Linked DNA regions of Homo sapiens: region 1 is linked to region 2. The links are contacts of gene promoters, found by promoter capture Hi-C in blood cells and fetal thymus (Javierre and others, 2016). All regions are on one chromosome and are shown on one strand. Each heading gives the region's core, a stretch centred on a gene start or on the middle of the fragment in contact. The rest is flanking DNA. Distances are from core to core; before and after follow the strand shown. Region 1 holds the start of MRPL32 (mitochondrial ribosomal protein L32). Region 2 holds the start of MPLKIP (M-phase specific PLK1 interacting protein).

What was found. Contacts are between HindIII fragments. The CHiCAGO score rates a contact against its expected background, and 5 or more counts as called.
Region 1: a contact is called between a fragment that was not itself captured here and the fragment with the promoter of MPLKIP in region 2, in 1 of 17 cell types (total B cells). The highest score is 6.4, in total B cells.

The regions. Positions count from the first base shown.
Region 1 is chr7:42,931,923-42,935,899 of GRCh38, reverse strand. MRPL32 (mitochondrial ribosomal protein L32) reads right to left here and starts at 3,524. Exons shown (of 3, transcript NM_031903.3): 1 at 3,384-3,524; 2 at 764-945. The coding sequence starts at 3,513. PSMA2 (proteasome 20S subunit alpha 2) reads left to right here and starts at 3,726. Exons shown (of 8, transcript NM_002787.5): 1 at 3,726-3,782. The coding sequence starts at 3,742. RefSeq lists an enhancer at 3,346-3,575. The HindIII fragment of the contact is 641 bases long and covers 2,155-2,795 here.
Region 2 is chr7:40,132,012-40,136,350 of GRCh38, reverse strand. It overlaps MPLKIP (M-phase specific PLK1 interacting protein), which reads left to right and starts at 1,729. Exons shown (of 2, transcript NM_138701.4): 1 at 1,729-2,122; 2 at 3,092-4,339. The coding sequence starts at 1,784. The coding sequence ends at 3,292. SUGCT (succinyl-CoA:glutarate-CoA transferase) reads right to left here and starts at 1,346. Exons shown (of 14, transcript NM_001193313.2): 1 at 1,231-1,346. The coding sequence starts at 1,330. RefSeq lists silencers at 1,274-1,473, 1,934-2,003 and an enhancer at 1,654-1,723. The HindIII fragment of the contact is 4,548 bases long and covers 1-3,317 here.

The DNA.
Region 1 (3,977 bases), core at 1,226-3,725, 2.8 Mb before region 2:
TAGATCAATGAAGACAGTACATCCATGTTGTCAGCGAGGAGAATCTGAAATTGTCTGAGGATAGGAGAACACAAAGAAAATCTTTAAAAGAACATGAGGTCAAAAATCAGAGCTCGAAAATCTACTGCTTCATAGCTGTGTGACCACAGGCAAATTCTTTTTGCCTCAGTTTTTTCATCCTAATAATGAAGAATATCTTATTTGCTTTGGAGGGCTATAAGACATGATGAGATATAATAAACATAAGGCACTGAGATACATCATAGACACTTAATTGTTGTTAGCTATTATATTACTTATCTTAGGGTTTTCCTTCATGGTATTTTGTTGGAAATGATAAAAAAATAAAACAAATATGTAAGGGCTTGTAAAACCCAAGATTCAGTATACCTACTGCTTCTAGCTTTAATTCTAGGCTCTGCCATAGTTAGGATGTTTACTCATCTGTAGTTCAAAACTCACACAGCTCAAGACTGACACAGCTCACAATTCAGAAGTCATGTAGGCACCTCACAGCCTCGTTCCTTGCCCAGTCTCCAAACTCACTCCTTCCTTGACTGTGTTTCTAATACTCAGGCTAGAGGACAGCAGGCTCTAGCCTTCTCATTATGTATATAATGAGAATACTGTATTTCATTTAGGCCAGAGGAAAGTAGACACATATAATCTGATAATAATTTATTCCTAGGCTATAGGAATCTACCATGAGCTTATTCAATGGAGGACTTGAGGAAAAGCACACCCACAAAAATCAATGCATTACCTTAACTTTAATAAGCTTCTGCGGATTTCTTCTCCTACACCGGTTAACTTCAATGGTGCGTCTATTTTTGGGAGCTGCCATCCAAAAGATACTGTCCAAAAGGCTGGAATTCTCTTTACTTCCACTGGTATCATTTGCTGGCTCTGTAAACATGGCTGGGCCCTGTACTGCTAATGCTGGTCCTAGGAAATAAAACATAAGAGATACAGAATTAGTTTCTAGCTTCTAAATTACTATTTACAGATATCATTTTCCTTAACAATCAATGGTCAAACATACACACACACAAAAACTATATATAAAATTTAGAATGTGAAACTCAATAATGAGAAACCTTAGCTATTAAAATACACTAAAGCTTATACAATTTTAAGGAACACAGAATTTTTTCTTAGCGGATCCTGCTGAAAAGAAGATCAGTGAAATTCCATCAAGTTTCTTATCTCATAAAATACAGGACTCTGATAGGCACCTAACTTGAACAAAACAAGCAAAGAATCACTCAACTGTCCACATTCTATTAATACTTGGCGGGTAGTAAGTACCTGATTAATTTACAAGTAAATCTAGACAGATTTCCTGAATACACTTCTGACCGGCACTGATGTAACTGCCAATTGCCTTTTCTTATATTCAAACTGAGTCAGGTCCTTTATGATACAACCTCTTAAGTCACTTAGTTCCTCATAACATTTAATCTTGATTCCTGTCTGCTCTCTAAAGAAAAGAGCCAGCTCACCATTTCTCTGTATGGCCTTATTTATGTGACTATCAAAGTTTCTCTTTTTCTGAATTGCTTATAAAATCAACATTCCTTTACCCTTTCCTTGCTATTTCTTAGACGTGCCATACTTTTTTTTTTTTTTTTTGAGACTGAGTCTCACTCTGTCACTCAGGCTAGAGTGCAGTGGCGTGACCTCGGCTCACTGCAACCTCCGCCTCCCTGGTTCAAGTGATTCTCCTGCCTCAGCCTCCCAAGTAGCTGGGATTACAGGTGTGCACCACCACGCCTGGTTAATTTTGTATTTTTAGTAGAGACAGGGTTTCACAATGTTGGCCAGGCTGGTCTTGAACTCCTGACCTTAGGTGATGGACCCACCTTGGCCTCCCAAAGTGCTGAGATTACAGGTGTGAGCCACCGCGCCCAGCCCACATACTTCTTTTGATCTTAAGAACTCTTAAAAATACACAAAGTTCTCTAACACTTAACAACTGGCATTTATTTTCAGTATGTCCACAAGTATTGCCAAGCATGCCCCGGTGATTAACAACACAGGCTCAGGACTGTCTGTGAACTTGGGACCATTGTGAGCCTACTGTTTCAGTTGGAAAGTGTATACACCTAATGGGACTGTTGTCAAGATTATCCCAGGAAGTACATGTAGAAAGCTTGGCACATTGCTTGGCATATAGTGGCATATATTTTCTTGGTATATTTCTGGATATTATCACTTTCAGGCTGCTTAGAAATTGAGTAGAATGTAAATGCCAAAGCCATGACAGTTTCAACATCCAAGATACTTCCAATTAAAATTAATTCCAAGTGAAACATGGGAAACAGAATTCAGCTCCTCAGAGCTCAAACACCACAGAAAACATGTACTGCGCGGGAGGGAGGGAGGAAGGGAGGAAAGAAGGGAGGGAAGGGAAGGGAAGAGGAGAGGGGGGAGAGGGGAAGCGGGAGGGGAGGTGAGGGCAGGGCTGGAAAGGAAAGACAGATCCAGAGAGTGGTGAGCCTTGATGCCAAGTGAGACCTGCAGAACTGTCCTCTCAGGACAACTCTGTACAAATCCCTGAACTCCACAGACTTGACCAAACTCTAGCATAGTTTCTAGCAGCATAAGGCTGTATCCTAGGATGACCTCGGCCCCCCCTTTAAAGTGCCTGCCTGAGAAAGCTCAACGCTGCCTGGAAAATTTCCTATTTATTTTGGCCAACATACCCCGATAGTAGGTCCCGAACTCCCTTAGAGCATTTCCTGGAAAGGGCATATAATTGTAAATACGTATCCCTTGCAACTAACTCGGAAGCTTTTCTTTCAAGGCCCTGAGAGCCATTCCTTCGAAATCTAATCATTAGGAAGGATAGGGCCTTTGTCTCCCAGTCTCTGCGGGAGGATAGAATTCTCCCTAAGACAACTGCGAGCTAGCAGACACAGCCGGCTAATCACATTTGCACTGACTTCACTATACTACACTTCTCTGACTCTACAGAGCCCCTACACTCCCGCCTCGCTCATTCTCCCTTTAAAACGCCCAAAGTCACCTCTGCACAAACCGGGATGGAGCTCAGCTCTTTACCTGCAGTAGTTACTGAATAAAATCTGTTTTCAGCGCTTTACTTACTGGCTGGCTATGATTTATCTTTGACACAAGCTTGGGTTACATTCTGTGTACGAATGGAACAAGCAGAGGAATTTTTTTTTTTTTTTTTTTGCGGTGGAGGGAGCGCAAAAACAGTCGTTCTGTTCTCGCTAATATGGGAATGTCACGAACTACGTCCCCGACATGAGGCCGCGGATCAGAACCGGGGCTGAGGGCGAACTGTGTAAGCTGCGTCTGCTACGCTGCCCGAGGTCCCGTCATCAGCCCCCTCTCCCACGGAGCCCTTCTTTACCTACCCCACGGAGGACTGGGAAAGCCCGGCCGGCTCTGCGGAAGCTTCCGTAGCAGTCGCTCCCAGTAGTTTCGAAGCACTCCCCGGGCCGCAGACCACGGCGAAACCACCAAGACCAGCATGGCCAGCGCCATTTTCCCTGCTGGAAGACCGCCCCGGTCCCGCCCCTGCTTTCAGCATGCGCACAGGCACAGAATCGGGCAAGCCTCGCTTCTTAGAACTACAACACCCCGCATGCTCTTGGAGCAGCTCTGACTCTCCTCCAATCATAGAGAGTAAAGGAAAGGTGAGGGGCGGGGAAATGAAAGGAAATCGGCCACAGTGCGCATGTGTGCGGCTGTGCTTTGGCTCTTCGGGTAAAGATGGCGGAGCGCGGGTACAGCTTTTCGCTGACTACATTCAGGTATGGAAGGGGCCCTCGAGGTCTTCAGCGTAGTCGAGGTTGCTGGTACTCTGTCGATTTAGTTTTTCCCATCCTGACGTCGGCATTGGTGCTTCTGGAGGGTCCAGTAGGGAATGGAGTTGGAAATGCGGCTTTGCAAAGTCATTTGCCAGGCCGACCCGGGATTCCTGGAGCTTCCTTGGTCGGAGGCTGCTG
Region 2 (4,339 bases), core at 480-2,979:
CGTTAGGCTATGATTTAATGAGTCCTAAAGCTCTTTTAAGATTCTGTATCCTACGCCAGGCGCGGTGGCTCACGCATGAAATCCCAGCACTTCGGGAGGCAGAGGCAGGCGGATCACTTGAGCCCAGGAATTTGAGACCAGCCTGGCCAACATGGTGAAACCCGTCTTTACTAAAAATACAAAAAAATTAGCCGGGCATGTGGCACATGCCTGTAATCTCGGCTACTCTAGAAAGCTGAGGCAAGAGAATCGCTTGAACCCGCGAGGCAGAGGTTGTGGTGAACCAAGATCGCGCCACTGCACTCCAGCCTGGGCGACAGAGCGAGACTGTCTCAAAAAAAAAAAAAAAAATCCTGCATCCTGCAACTAATTTCAAGATTCATAGTGGGCCGCGCGCATAATCATAGAGATTACGTCTGTAATCTCAACACTTTGGGAGGCCGAGGCGGGAGGATAACTTGAGGTCAGGAATTCGAGACCAGCCTGGCCAATATGGCGAAACCCCGTCTCTACTAAAAATACAAAAATTAGTTGGGCGTGGTGGCGCATGCCTATAATCCCAGCTACTCGGAAGGCTGAAGCAGGAAAATCTCCTGAACACGGGAGGAGGAGGTTGCAGTGAGCCGAGATCGCGCCACTGCAGTCCAGCCTGGGCGAGACAGCGAGACTCCGTCTCAAAAAAAAGAGAAAAAAAGAAAAAAGGAAAAAAAAGATTCATAGTGGATTACCATTCCCAAATTCAGAGGGAGTAAAGAAAGTTCTATAACACTGTAGTAAAGCTAAATTTCATCCTCTAAATAAAATTCTGCAACAGGTAACTGTACAAGGGCATCTTTTATTGTACATGAAGTGTCAAGTTATTCAAAGCAGCGGGCTAAAGTCCTTTCTGAAATGTGGCTTGGTGTGCATTTTCGAAGTTACTTAAACTTGGCGGACGAAAGGACAGGAGTAAAGAGGCCCCAAACGCGAGCCGCGGGACGCGCAGGAGCGGGACCCCACGGCGCACGGAGCCCTCGGTCACAACAACGCACGGGACAGAGGCGACCCTGGGCGGCCAGAGCGGGGCAGGCCGGCCGCAGGCCCACGGAACGGGGTTGCAGGGAGGCGAGCAAAGCCACCGCTAAGGGGTCAGCAGAGACTTCAGACCCTAATTGCTCTCCTCAGGGCGCCCGAGGAGGCAAGCTGGGGCAGGGATCCCTTTAGCCACCCAGACCGAATCTCGGAGGGTACCTGACTGCGGGCGGCCAGTCCACAGCCCCCTCCCGCCGCCCCGGCCGGAGAAGAGGCAGGTTCTGCGCAGAGCTGCCACCCTCGCCAGCGTCGCCAGCATCGCGTGCGTCTCAGATGGCATCGGTCCCGGTGCAAGCGGCGAACTCCGTGCGGCGCCACCCGCCGCCACTGGGGGGCGCCCACGGACGCCGCAGACCCCGCCCCCGCCGGGCGGGGCTGAGCACTAGTCGCCTGCTGGGCCAGCTTCTAGTCTGTCGGTCAGACCAAGGGCACTCAGACTGGAAAGGTTGTTGCTGGGCTTGGGTGTCCGTCCTTTCCTGTCTCCTTTTCTTCCTCTTTTCACTTAAATCCACTGAGTCTCTCGCCAAGTCAGTGATTTAGGTAATCCCGCCGCCCCTGGCGGAACCTTTGTGACGCCGGAACTGATGTGCCGTAGGGTGGCTGCGGTCGGAGGACTGTTTTGGTAAAGGACTAGCAGTTCTCTGCGGAGGGCCGGTTGATACAGTTCCGGTGGGAGAACGCGGCTGCGAGGTTTTCGGCTTTGGCTCCTGATATGCAGCGACAGAATTTTCGGCCCCCAACTCCTCCTTACCCTGGTCCGGGTGGAGGAGGTTGGGGTAGCGGAAGCAGCTTCCGGGGAACCCCGGGCGGGGGCGGACCACGGCCGCCCTCCCCTCGAGACGGGTACGGGAGTCCGCACCACACGCCGCCGTACGGGCCCCGGTCTAGGCCGTACGGGAGCAGTCACTCTCCGCGACACGGCGGCAGCTTCCCGGGGGGCCGGTTCGGGTCTCCGTCCCCTGGCGGCTACCCTGGCTCCTACTCCAGGTCCCCCGCGGGGTCCCAGCAGCAATTCGGCTACTCCCCAGGGCAGCAGCAGACCCACCCCCAGGTAATAATAATAGCCAGCGTTTGCCGAGCTCTTACTTTATGGCAGGCACGGTACTAATATTCCCTTTACGTGGATTATTTTGTCTAATCCTCTCTGAGGTACTATTGTTAGCCCAATTTTGCAGATGAGCGAACTGAGGCTTAGAGAAGTTGAGTGACTTCCGGAAGATTATCCGAAAGAGTGGCAGAGCCGTACGTTCTGTTTTCGAGCCCTCGTGCTTTTAACCAATACACTGCCACCCGTACACAGATTTTCCTAATTCTCCATTTCCTCCTGTTTGCCAAAGGCCTTGCCAGTTTGTTTCAAGAAATAGTTCTTTTTCTTTTTTTTTTTTTTTTTTTTATCTTTCTTTCGAGCTACACTGGCTTCTGCTCCAACTTCCCTGAAAAGAAAATCGGTGGTAGTGGAAGTTTTCCATTCCTTTAGTGAGAGTAAATACAAAAGACAGAGAGAGTATCTCTAGCATGTCTGGGATTTCTGTGGTTTACAACTTGCAACTACGTGGTTTTCCAACTTGCTGTATTCTACACCAACCCCCTACCCCTTTTGAGCCTGGAGCTAAGGAGTAAAGAAAATGTTCATGAGCTAGAAAGGTTCTAGAAACTTTAAAACTATAGTATTGTTTTCTCCTGAAAAAAGTGAAAATTTCGAGGGAAAATTGAATATAATTACTTGATTTCATCACTGCTTGTATTTAATTACTGCAAAGTTACTACATTAGACACAAAAGTATTTGAGATGACAGTGGTCATGGAATTATAAATAAATGAGAATAACGAATTGCTTTAAGTACTTTTTTTAAAAAATAGGAACACTTGATTAAAGGAAGCATGGACTTTGTAATTGAACATTATTTAGGTTCAAGTCACAACTTTTAAGCAGCAATGTGATTCCCGCTAACCTTTAGCTAAAGGAAGAAGTACCAATTATCTTTACTAAGTGTTTTTTTAACTGATTTTTTTTCTAAAGGGTTCTCCAAGGACATCTACACCATTTGGATCAGGGCGTGTTAGAGAAAAAAGAATGTCTAATGAGTTGGAAAATTATTTCAAGCCTTCAATGCTTGAAGATCCTTGGGCTGGCCTAGAACCAGTATCTGTAGTGGATATAAGCCAACAATACAGCAATACTCAAACATTCACAGGCAAAAAAGGAAGATACTTTTGTTAACATTTCTGAAATTCAACTGGAAGCTTCATGTGTCAGGAACATCTTGGACAAAACTTTAAGTTGTGTTGATATAAATTTACCCAAAGATGATGACTTTGATTGGATAATTAGTAAGGTCTTTTTGTTATTTTTCATCGTATCAGGTATTGTTGATATTAGAGAAAAAAGTAGGATAACTTGCAACATTTAGCTCTGGAAGTACCTACCACATTTTAGAGATTTACCGTTTCCATATATTTAACATTCCTGGTTACATAATGGACATTTGTCTTTTAATGTTTTTTCAATGTTTTAAAATAAAACATTTTGTCTTCTAGCTATTGTGGTTTTGTGGTATGATAAAGAAGTAGACTTACTACAGTAATGCTTTGTAGTCACTTAGAGTTCATAGGTAAATGTTTTGCAAATTATTTTTGAAAATGAAATAGGTAAACCATCCTTTGAGCTGTAGACAGCTCTGTATTTGTTCGTAAATAATGAGGATGAGAATAACAGAGTTCTGTTCATACTCATTTTATCTAATGCTTCTGTTAAAATGCATTAAAACTTGAAGCCCCAGAAACCCATTTAAGCATAACTTTATACTCATTTAACTGGAAAAGGCAAGAATAGACCATGCATTGCTAAATCAAAGTGTTCTATCTGAATTTCTCTATACCTCTTAGCATTATGGAGTTAGTTTCTCTTGAGGCCAAAGAAGATAGCTACCAGCAGCCTCAAATCACTTCCATTGCAAAAAGAACATCTCTCATCTCCATCAATCCAAGAGAAGACAAATTTGCCATACTTAGATCATGTTTCTGTATTATTGAACCAATTAACTGTGGCCAAGGCCACAGTGAGACCTAATTAACTTGAATCATGGACACATCACCATAATGAGACAGGATTCTGTGACCTTGAACACCACTGGGCCTACCTGGAGTAGAGAAGTGGTTTTCCAAATTAAGGGATGCTATGGATATATACCTATAGTTCTGGAGAGAAAAATATGGAAGAATTGTTACCCCAACTATTTTTTAAAAATCAAGTGGTTTTTTGTTTGTT